Linked DNA regions of Homo sapiens: region 2 is linked to region 1. Evidence: promoter capture Hi-C in 16 types of primary human blood cells and fetal thymus (Javierre and others, 2016). All regions are on one chromosome and are shown on one strand. Each heading gives the region's core, a stretch centred on a gene start or on the middle of the fragment in contact. The rest is flanking DNA. Distances are from core to core; before and after follow the strand shown.

The links. Contacts are between HindIII fragments. The CHiCAGO score rates a contact against its expected background, and 5 or more counts as called.
Region 2: a contact is called between a fragment that was not itself captured here and the fragment with the promoter of ERAS in region 1, in 10 of 17 cell types (M0 macrophages, naive CD8 T cells, naive CD4 T cells and 7 more). The highest score is 8.7, in M0 macrophages.

The regions. Positions count from the first base shown.
Region 1 is chrX:48,825,162-48,830,848 of GRCh38, forward strand. It overlaps ERAS (ES cell expressed Ras), which reads left to right and starts at 1,352. Exons shown (of 2, transcript NM_181532.3): 1 at 1,352-1,388; 2 at 3,920-4,708. The coding sequence starts at 3,963. The coding sequence ends at 4,664. RefSeq lists a silencer at 1,170-1,219. The HindIII fragment of the contact is 5,532 bases long and covers 1-5,356 here.
Region 2 is chrX:48,653,544-48,659,571 of GRCh38, forward strand. All of the region lies in intron 1 of LOC124905186 (a long non-coding RNA gene), which reads left to right. Among named protein-coding and RNA genes, the nearest start is that of WAS, 27 kb to the right of the region's middle. The HindIII fragment of the contact is 2,419 bases long and covers 907-3,325 here.

The DNA.
Region 1 (5,687 bases), core at 102-2,601:
GGTAGAATCCATGAGAAAATGGGTGCTTGCCTTATAAATAGGAGCCTCACAGCCAGTCCCAGCCACACCCACACCCTAGGCTGAGAAGGCAAGAAAACTAGCAGGAAGTATCCTTACCAGGCCTGTTTCCCCACTGTCTCATTGGCCTGACTGGGGATGGTGGGAGGTCCAGGTTTAACTTGAATGTGGTGGTCATGGTAGCTTCTTGGCAGAAGGGGTGCCTGCCATTGACCACAGGTGGGAAATTGGAGGACAGTCTGAGAGCTGAATTTCTCCCACGTGGTGAGAATTGCTTTGGCAGCTCAAGGGAGTTGGATCTGAGGTTTCCAGGACTTTTCTTCATGGCCACCTTATGATCCCAAGCTGACCACCACAGCCTTACTGAGTCAAGAAGAGGAGGGATGGGGAAGGGCCGGGGCTGCCCCGTTCTTGTTTTGTTTTGTTTTTTGAGATGGAGTCTTGCTCTTGTCACCCAGGCTGGAGTGCAGTGGCACGATCTCGGCTCATTGCAGCCTCTGCCTCCCAGGTTCAAGTGATTCTCCTTCCTCAACCTCCTGAGTAGCTGGGATTACAGGTGCCTACCACCACACCTGGCTAATTTTTGTATTTTTAGTAGAGACGGGGTTTTGCCATATTGGGCAGGCTGGTCTCAAACTCCTGACCTGGTGATCCGCTGGCCTTGGTCTCCCAAAGTGCTGGGATTATGGGTGTGAGCCACCACTCCCGGGCCAGGGGCTGCCCTGTTTTAAGAGCCCTCTGGATGCCCCACCTCTGCTGCCCTCTCATTGATCAGGACTGTGCATGTGGTTGCCATAGCTGCAAGGGAGCCTGGGAAATGTGTAGTTTGACAGGCAGCCGCCTCCAATCAGGGTCTTTCTTCCCTGACAGAATGACCCCTCCTCTGTCACTGTCTTTTCTCCAGAGCTACCAAAAAACCGAGTTGAGGCAGCACAGGCTCTGTGGCCTGAAAGAGCTTCCCACAAAACCGTTCCCAAAGTCAGGCCATCCTGGTCAAAATCTAACACCCAACTCTCCCACACACACACACCACCAACAGGAAAGCAAGGGAGAGGCGCCACAGGGGACACACGGGGAGGTTTGGCCGCCGTCCGTGCACCCCTAGAGGCCGCTGTGGCACCCACGTGCCTGTGCGCAAGCCGCCTGGGGGGGCACGACCCCTTGCTCCCCCGGGGCAATGGCACGGGCAGGGGCGGGGCAGTGGCAGGGGCAGGGGCGCGGCGCAGGGGGGTGGGCGGCCTGAGGAGCCGAGGGAGGGCGGCTGCGCATGTCCACTCCCCCAACCGCCGCCGGGGTGCCCCGGGGAGCAGCGTCGCCCCCCGCCAGGCCTGTCAGAGCGTCCCAGCGCGCCCGCCTCCCCACGGACACAGGTGAGCGAGGCGCCGGTGCCCCTGGCCCTGCCAGGCCTGGGGGTATCCCCGCGCCGGCTTTGGGGGATCGTCCCCCAAGCGCCAAGCCTTCTCCCGGGCGAGCGGCCCCTCACTCGGCCGGCCGGGAGGGGTGTCGGCGCTTGGCTGGAAGCGGGGCCGCCTCACCCGGAGTCGGGATGGGTCTTGACAGGATGCCCGGGCGACGCTGCTCACACCGAGCCCGAAGTGGAGTCCTGGTTTCGGGGACCCTTCCGCACTCCGAGCTTTGCACCTCACCCGGCCTCGTCCGGGAAAGCACGACCTGGCGAGGCCGCCCTAACCCCAGGTCCCGGCCCCTTAGCGCGCCAGCCTTGGTGAGCTGGGCGAAGCCCCCCAACCTGGTCCCAGCGGCTCTGAGCGCGCGGCCACGGGGACCCGCCGGGGGCTCCGCGCCACTTGAGAGGACCGAGCCCCCAATCTCCGGCGCCTCCCGCGGGCTGAGGCCCCGGGCCAGTGCCCTCGGCACGTGCCTCTGCGCCTCGGGCTCCTCCCGGGAGCGGAGCCTTGGGGACCAGGGCCGCGGCCTCCCTGCGCGTCGCGGGGACTGGGCGAGTGTGGCCCCGTCCCGCCAGGCACCTGGGGTGGAAGCTGCGCTCCGCCACTCGGCCAGGCCCCGGGCTTTTCCTTCCTCACCGTCGGCGCCCCCAGACTCCAGCCGCTCAGACCCCGACTTAAGAGGCAGCCTCGACCCCGCCTCTGCCTTCTGACCCATCCCTAAAGATGGCCGGGCACCCCTACAGGACCCCCAGAAGCCGACCTCTCCCTCCACGTGCGCCGCCGCCTCGCCCCTCCCCGCAGTCCTCCAGGTCTTCTTCCTGTCCCCAACCGTCGGGGACCCCCAAGCTCCGTCCTCCGCTTCCTGCTCTCTTTATCCCGCCCCCGCTCCTTCTGGGCCAACGCCGCCAGTGACTATTCCCAGGGATCCCTCAGAGCTGAGGACGCCGCGGCCGCATCCCCATTTGGGACCTTGCCCCGACTCCGACCTCCGGATCTCCAGCTCCACCAAACCTCGAAGCCACCATCCGCCCCCAAACTGCCGCTGCGCCAGGCTTTCGGAGGGGAGTCGTGGCAACAGCCATTAGGATGCACTAAGCAGGGCACTTCCTGAGCCCAAGGACACCGAGGGGCATTCACTGAGTGAATGGGGATGTGCTGCTAATAACTAACACTAATTGACCACCTGCCGTGTGCCCATCCTCTTCGAACATGCAACTTCCTTGTTCCTTATCTTGTTACTGTCTCTTTCTCTCTGCCAGAATCCAATCCTCACAAGGGCAGGGACTGGGGTCTGTTTTGTTAACTGCCATATCACAATGCCTGGCACGAAGGAAGATTCTTGAATTAATGAATGGAGATTAAATTATAATTTAAAAGCCTGGCATGAACTGAGCACCTTCTGCATGCTTATCACCCGCTACTGACATATAGTTCACTTTTTTTTTTTTTTTTTTTTTGAGACGGAGTTTTGCTCTTATCTCCCAGGCTGGAGTGCAAGTGGTGTGATCTCAGCTCACTGCAACCTCCGCCTCCCGGGTTCAAGCGATTCTTCTGCCTCAGCCTCCCGAGTAGCTGGGATTACAGGCGTCCACCACCACTCCTGGCTAATTTTTTTGTGTTTTTATTAGAGACAGGGTTTCGCAATGTTGGGCAGGCTGGTCTCGAACTCCTGACCTCAGGTGATCCACCCGACTCGGCCTCCAAAGTGCTGGGATTACAGGCGTGAGCCATTGTGCCCCGCCCCCTTTTTAACCTAGTTTGTTGTCTCTCACCCCGACCAGAATATAACCTTCATGAGGGCTACAGTTTGTTGTCTATTTATTGCCCAACTCCATGTCCTTGCCACACAGTAGGTTCCCAATAAATGTATGTTGAATAATTAATAAAGACTACATTCTAATGATAATGGCTAACAGACCACGTGATTTACATATTTATTTGGTTTATTATATTATCTGCCTCTGCCTTTTAGAACATAAACCTTCTGGGGGTGGGAATGTTGGGTCCCTACTGTCTGGCAGGCACTGTGCTGGGCTAGGGTTCAATGGTGACCAAAACCGGCAAAATCCTGCCCTCCCTCTGTCATGGGGAGGAACTGCTAATGGGCATGGGGATTCTTTTCTGGGTGAGGAAAATGTTCTAAAATTTACTTATGGTGATAGTTGCACAACTTCGTGAATATGCTAAAACCCGTTAAATTGGACACTAGCTGGCTGAACTTGATGGGATGTAAATTACATCTCAATAAAGCTGTTTGGGAAATCCAGCCTTCACAGTTGTTGATTCGCGTGAGGAGGGAAGGAGAGATGGGGGGACGTGGGACAGGGAGAAAACAACATAAATCATATATATATAGCATGCAAATTGGAAGGTGATCAGCACACAATAGGCATTCAATAAATGTTGAAATAATGACACCCCACTGTCTCCTTGCCCTCAAATGGTCTCCCCTAACGTATCCCCTGTTGTCTTGCTTCTTCTCTTCCCACTTGCAGAGCCTGCTGCCCACGTCTCTTCCCTGAGCTGCCTGCTGGGGTCATGGAGCTGCCAACAAAGCCTGGCACCTTCGACCTGGGCCTGGCCACATGGAGCCCTTCCTTCCAGGGGGAAACCCACCGGGCTCAGGCACGCCGCAGGGATGTTGGCAGGCAGCTGCCTGAGTACAAGGCTGTGGTGGTGGGCGCCAGTGGCGTGGGCAAGAGTGCGCTGACCATCCAGCTGAACCACCAGTGCTTCGTGGAGGACCACGACCCCACCATCCAGGATTCCTACTGGAAGGAGTTGACCCTGGACAGTGGGGACTGCATTCTGAATGTGCTGGACACAGCAGGGCAGGCCATCCATAGGGCCCTGCGTGACCAGTGCCTGGCTGTCTGTGATGGTGTGCTGGGCGTCTTCGCTCTCGATGACCCCTCGTCTCTGATCCAGCTGCAGCAGATATGGGCCACCTGGGGCCCTCACCCCGCCCAGCCCCTTGTCCTCGTGGGCAACAAGTGTGACCTTGTGACCACTGCTGGAGATGCTCATGCCGCTGCTGCAGCCCTCGCACACAGCTGGGGGGCCCACTTCGTGGAGACCTCGGCCAAAACACGGCAAGGCGTGGAGGAGGCCTTTTCCCTGCTGGTCCATGAGATCCAGAGGGTCCAGGAGGCCATGGCGAAGGAGCCCATGGCAAGGTCCTGTAGGGAGAAGACCCGGCACCAGAAGGCCACCTGCCACTGTGGCTGCTCTGTGGCCTGAAGGTCTTGGCCAAGAAATGTAGACCTTTCCCCAGGCCAGGGTGATTGTTCATTTGACATGAGACCCCTGAGGCAACTAGCTTTGAGGGACACATCAGGTATACTAGGGAAAGATGGACATCTCTCTTGTTTTCACTTGGTGAGGGGCTTTTTGGTAACATGGGAGTGCCTAATGTTGCTTTTGTTATGTCAAGTTGAAAGATTTTGTGCAAAATTAAATAAATGGTGTTTTGGGTTTCAAAGCTGCCTCCATGCCGAGTGTTGTGTGGGTGGGAGTGAGACTGGGTAGAATGTTACTTGAGTTGTGAGAATTCTTTCATTCAAGAAATTCAGGGGGAGCCCACTGTGTGCTAGGCTCCGCTTTATATATAAGGGAGGTAGAGGCAAACAAGACACTTAAAAATCCTTGCCCTTATAGATATGGCATCAGGCTAGATAGTGATAAAGGCTACGTGTTAAAGGCAGGTGAAGGAATAGGGTGACAGGTCCAGGAAAGCCTTCTTGAGAGTAGGTGACATCTGGACAAAAACCTGAAGATATCCAGAGGCAGAGGGACTAGCCAGTGCAAAGACCATGGCCACAAATCAGCTGCCACCACAGCAACCCTCAGTATATCCAGGGCCTGGAGCAAGAGTACAGGTAGGCCTCTACACTACATAACTAAATATGTAAACGTTCAGACATTACGAATCAAGCTTTACAAAGTAAATGAAATACACCCTATCCTACTTTGGCAAATACACTTTATTAGTGACCTGGATACCCAGGCTCCAATTTCTCAGCCTTCTCAGAGTTCCCTGCCAGAATGTGCCTGTCTGCCAAAGAGTGTGCCTGTACTGGGGCCTCCCGACCCTCAGTGCCCTCTCCCTTTCTCTCCGCTCTCTCCTTTTCTCTTCCCCACATCAGGAGGTGTTCATGTGTGCCTGCGACATCCCAGCCAGCACCTCAAGCTCTACTCACGTGCCCCACAAAGCCACCCCTTGGCCCTCAGGAGGATGGTCCCTTGGAAGATGATGGTGCAGGC
Region 2 (6,028 bases), core at 866-3,365, 170 kb before region 1:
GGCAGATCACTTGAGGTCGGGAGTTCGAGACCAGCCTGGGCAACATGGCAAAACCCCCATCTCTACTAAAAATACAAAAATTAGCCAGGCATGGTGCCACATGCCTGTAATCCCAGCTACTCGGGTGGCTGAGGCAGGAGAATCTCTTGAACCCAGGAGGTGGAGGCTGCAGTGAACTGAGATCACACCACTGCACTCCAGCCTGGGCAACAAAGCAAGACTCTGTCTCAAAAAAAAAAAAAAAAGAAAGAAAGGAAGAAGAGGAACAGGAGGGAGGAGGAGGGATCTGAGCTAGCACGCTCAGCCCCTTGCCAAGTGATACCCTGCACTGTCTCAGGACTCTTCAGAGTCCTCACCAGCAAAAAGTCCCCCACCAGATGCAGCCCCTTGACCTTAGACTTCTCAGCCCCCACAACTGTAAGAAAGAAATTCATTTCCTTTAAAATTACCCAGTTTCAGGTATTCTGTTATAAGCAACAGAAACTGGACTAAGACAGGAAAACACAAACATTCAGTCCATTGCCTTCCAACACCTGCCTGCCCCCGACAATTCATGTGCTTCTCACATGCAAACTACATTCAATTCCATCCAAACATCCCCCCAAATCTTAACTCATTCCAGTATGAACTCTAAAGTCTAAAGCCAAAAGTCTCATCTAAAGATCATCTAAATCAGGTATGGGTGAAACTCACCCTGAAGCAAAATTCCTCTTCAGCTGCTTAAAAGAAACCAAAGTATTTGCTTCCAAAATACAATGATGGGACACAAAGAGGGTCTATAAACATTCCCATTCCAAAAGGGAGAAACAGGGAAGGAGGACGGGGTGACAAGTCCCAAGCAAGTCCAAAACCTAGCAAGGGAAGTTCTGTGAGATCTTGAGACTCAGGTAATCCTCTTTGGCTTGAAGCTTTGCCTCCAGACCTACTGGGGTGTCAGTCCCTCATGCCAGACCCACTGAGGGGGCAATGTCACCCTCACAGTGAGAGACAGGACTAGCTGGATTTCCTAGGCTGACTAAGAATCCCTAAGCCTAGGTGGGAAGGTGACCGCAATCCACCTTTAAACACGGGGCTTGCAACTTAGCTCACACCCGACCAATCAGGGAGTAAAGAGAGCTCACTAAAATGCTAATTAGGCAAAAACAGGAGGTAAAGAAATAGCTAATCATCTATCACCTGAGAGCACAGCGGGAGGGACAATGATAGGGATATAAACCCAGGCATTCGAGCCCGCAACGGCTACCCTCTTTGGGTCTCCTCCCTTTGTATGGGAGCTCTGTTTTCACTCTATTAAATCTTGCAGCTGCACTCTCTTCTGGTCCGTGTTTGTTACGGCTCGAGCTGAGCTTTCACTTGCAGTCCACCACTGCTGTTTGCCGCCGTCGCAGACCCGCCATTGACTTCCATCCCTCCAGATCCGGCAGGGTGTCCGCTGTGCTCCTGATCCAGCAAGCCGTCCACTGCTGCTCCCGATCGGGCTAAAGGCTTGCCATTGTTCCTGCATGGCTAAGTGCCTGTGTTTGTCCTAATCGAGCTGAACACTAGTCACTGGGTTCCACGGTTCTCTTCCGTGACCCACGGCTTTTAATAGAGCTATAACACTCACGCATGGCCCAAGACTCCATTCCTTGGAATCCGTGAGGCCAAGAACCCCAGGTCAGAGAACCCGAGGCTTGCCACCATCTTGGAAGCAGCCCACCACCATCTTGGGAGCTCTGGAAGCAAGGACCCCCACCCCCCGGCCCGGTAACAACAGTTTGGCAGCACTCACTGCTCATGCTGTGGTTGTCAGGGCAGGAGTTGTAGCCTCAGGGCTCTGCTGGGAGCCTCCATCCCCACCGCTCTACTGGGCATTGGTCTCACCCTTTGAAATGGAGGTGGAGGCTGGGAGTGGTGGCTCACACCTGTAATCCCAGCACTTTGGGAGGCCAGGACAGGCCAGTCACAAGGTCAGGAGATCGAGACCATCCTGGCTAACAGGGTGAAACCCCGTCTCTACTAAAAATACAAAAAATTAGCTGGGCGTGGTGGTGGGCGCCTGTAGTCCCAGCTACTTGGGAGGCTGAGGTGGGAGAATGGCATGAACCTGGGAGGCGGAGTTTGCAGTGAGCCAAGATTGTGCCACTGCACTCCAGCCTGGATGACAGAGCGAGACTCTGTCTCAAAAAAAAAAAAAAAAAAGAAATGGAGGTGCAGGTAGTCCTATGCCCTAAGCCCATGTACTCTGGGCCTCTGATGGGACTGGTGACCTGGACGGTCTCTGAATCACCTTCAGGGTTCTTCTTCCCTTATCTTGAAGAACAGTGTGTGTTCACAGCCGAATAGTTCTATGGTTTGGTCCTATAGGATCTAAGAAGTTTAATCATCTTCCTTCATTTTGTCCCATTTTCTTTTTTTCTTTTTCTTTTTTTTTTTTGAGACAGAGTCTCCCTCTGTTGCCCAGCACCCAGGCTGGAGTGCAGTGGTGCAATCTCAGCTCACTGCAACCTCCGCCTCCTGGGTTCAAGTGATTCTCCTGCCTCAGCCTCCCAAGTAGCTGGGATTACAGGCGTGCACCACCGCACCCGGCTAATTTTTGTATTTTCAGTAGAGACAGGGTTTCACCATGTTGGTGAGGCTGGTCTTGAACTCCTGATCTCAGGTGATCCACCCGCCTCAGCATCCCAAAGTGTTGGGATTACAGGCATGAGCCACTGTGCCCAGCCATTTTGTCCCATTTTCTCTGTTTCCTTTAGTCCCAGTCAGCAGTGCCATTTCCAGTACAATCCCATCGCTATTGCTGTTTTGTTGAGATGGTTAATGAAGTCCACAGTTCACATTCACAGTAATCTCCTTGTCAAATAGTCCAGCAGATCCTTAGTGTTCTCTTCCAAACATGCTTTGTCATGTTTTGTAATATGGACAGGGACAGGCTGAGAATTTTCCAGACCCACTGAGGGAGCAATGTCACCCTCATAGCTTGGGTAAGTTTAAGTTCTGGTTCCTTTTTGCATAACAATTCTGTTTTCAATTCATATCTCTCTTCTCAAATTTGACTATAAGCAGTCAGGAGGAACCAAGCCTCTCCTTTCAACACTTTGCTTAGAGATCTCCTCAGCTAAATCTCCATTTCACTGTTCACAAGTCCTACCCTCTACAAAACACTAAAACGTAAACACAATTCAGCCAGGTTCTTTGCTACTTTATAACAAGGATCACCTTTTCTCCACTGTCCAATAACACGTTCCTCATTTCTACCTGAGACCACATCAGAACAGCCTTTAACCACCCATATTTCTACCACCAATCTGTTCATGATTACTTATGTATTCTTTAAGAAAGCAGAAGCTTTCTCTACAGCTCTCCTCATTTCTTTCTGACTGCTCATCAGAATCACCTTTAAAGGTCCATTCAATGGCAATATAGGATTTTTCTTTTTTTCCTTTTTCTTTTTTTTAGATGGAGTCTTGCTCTGTTGCCCAGGCTGGAGTGCAGTGGCGCAATCTTGGCTCACTGCAACCTCCACCTCCCTGGTTCAAGCAATTCTCCTGCCTCAGCCTCCTGAGTAGCTGAGATTACAGGTGTGCGCCACCACGCCCGGCTAATTTTTTTTTTTTTTTTTGTATTTTTAGTGGAGATGGGGTTTCACCGTGGTGGTCAAGTTGGTCTCAAACTCCTGACCTCATAATCCATCCACCTCGGCCTCCCAAAGTGCTGGGATTACAGGTGTGAGCCACCGCACCTGGTGGCAATATAGGATTTTTCTAGCGCATGCACCCAAATTTATGTCTTAGTCTGTTTTCTGTTGCTATAACAGAATACCACAGACCAGGTAATTTATAAAGAAAAGAAGCTCAGCCAGGTGCAGTGGCTCACACCTATAATCCCAGCACTTTGGGAGGCCAAGGTGGGTGGATCACTTGAGGTCAGGAGTTTGAGACCAGCCTGACTAACATGGTGAAACACCATCTCTACTAAAAATACAAAAATTAGCTGGGCCTGGTGATGAATGCGTGTAATCCCAGCTAGTCGGGAGGCTGAGGCAGGAGTATTGCTTGAACCTGGGAGGCAGAGGTTGCAGTGAGCAGAGATCGTGCCACTGCACTCCAGCCTGGGTGACAGAGTGAGATTCTGTCTCAAAAAAATAAAAAATAAAAATAATTTTAAAAAGAAGCTTAACAAGCTCACAGTTCTGGAGGCTGGGAAGTCTAAGAGCATGGTGCTAGCATCAGATGAGGCCTTCATGCTGCATCATCCCATCATGGGTAGACAGAATGGCAAGAGGGTGCATGCGAGAGACAGCTCACTTTTATAACAAAGCCACTCCCACAATAACAGCATTAGTCCATTCATGAAGGTGACAGCCCCATGACCTAATGTCTTCTTAAAGACCCCACCTCTCAATACTGTTACAATGGCAATTAAAGGTCAACATGAGTTTTGGAGGGAACATTCAAACCATGGCACTCTTCCAGCCTCTAGTCATTACAATTACAAGGCCACTTCCACATTTTTAGGTATTCGTTACATAGCACCCCTCACTTCTCAGTACCAATTTCTGTCTTAGTCAGTTCTGACTGGTATAACAAAGTGCCATAGACTGGGTGGCTTATAAACAACAGAAATTTCTCTCTTAACAGTTCTGGTTGGAAGTCTGACATTACGGTTCCAGCATGGTCAGGTTCTGGTAGGGATGCTGTTTAGGGTTGCTGACAGCTAAATTTTCATTGTATCCTCACATTGTGGAAAGAACTCTCTGGGGTCCCTTTTATTTATTTATTTATGTATTTATATTTTTCTGAGACAGAGTCTCACTCTGTCGTCCAGGCTGGACTGCAGTGGCACCATCTCCATTCACTGCAACCTCCGCCTCCTGGGTTCAAGCGATTCTCCTGCCTCAGCCTCCTGAGTAGCTGGGATTACAGGCAAACACCACTATGCCCAGCTAATTTTTGTATTTTTAGTAGAGACAGGGTTTCGCCATGTTGGCCAGGCTGGTCTTGAACTTCTGGCCTCAGGTGATCCACCTGCTTCGGCCTCCCACAGTGCTGGGATTACAGGCGTGTGCCACTGCGCCCAGCCTGGGGTCCCTTTCATAAGGGCACCAATCCCATTCATGAGGGCTCCACTGTCATGACTTAATCACCTCCCAAAGGTCCCACCTTCTAATACTATCACATTAGGGGTTAGGATATCAACATGTTTGGGGAGACACAAACATTCAGTCTATTGCACAGCCTTTTACCTTCTGCAAATAAAACTGCTTCCAGTATACCCAAAGCTGTACTAAAACCTCTTTTTTTTTTTTTTTTTTTCTGGTTTTCCTAGGCAGAGTATTTGTGTCCCTGGGTACTTGAGATTAGGGAGTGGTGATGACTCTTAAGGAGCATGCTGCCTTCAAGCATCTGTTTAACAAAGCACATCTTGCACCGCCCTTAATCCATTTAACCCTGAGTGGACACAGCACATGTTTCAGAGAGCACAGGGTTGGGGGGTAAGGTCACAGATCAACAGGATCCCAAGGCAGAAGAATTTTTCTTAGTACAGAACAAAATGAAAAGTCTCCCATGTCTACTTCTTTCTACACAGACACAGCAACCATCCGATTTCTCAATCTTTTCCCCACCTTTCCCCCTTTTCTATTCCACAAAACCGCCATTGTCATCATGGCCCGTTCTCAATGAGCTGTTGGGTACACCTCCCAGACGGGGTGGTGGCCGGGCAGAGGGGCTCCTCACTTCCCAGTAGGGGCGGCCGGGCAGAGGCGCCCCTCACCTCCCGGACGGGGCGGCTGGCCGGGCGGGGGGCTGACTCCCCCACCTCCCTCCCGGACGGGGCGGCTGGCCGGGCGGGGGGCTGACCCCCACACCTCCCTCCCGGACGGGGCGGCTGGCCGGGCGGGGGGCTGACCCCCCCACCTCCTTCCCGGCCACCTCCCTCCCGGATGGGGCGGCTGGCCGGGCAGAGGGGCTCCTCACTTCCCAGTAGGGGCGGCCGGGCAGAGGCGCCCCTCACCTCCCGGACAGGGCGGCTGGCCGGGCGGGGGGCT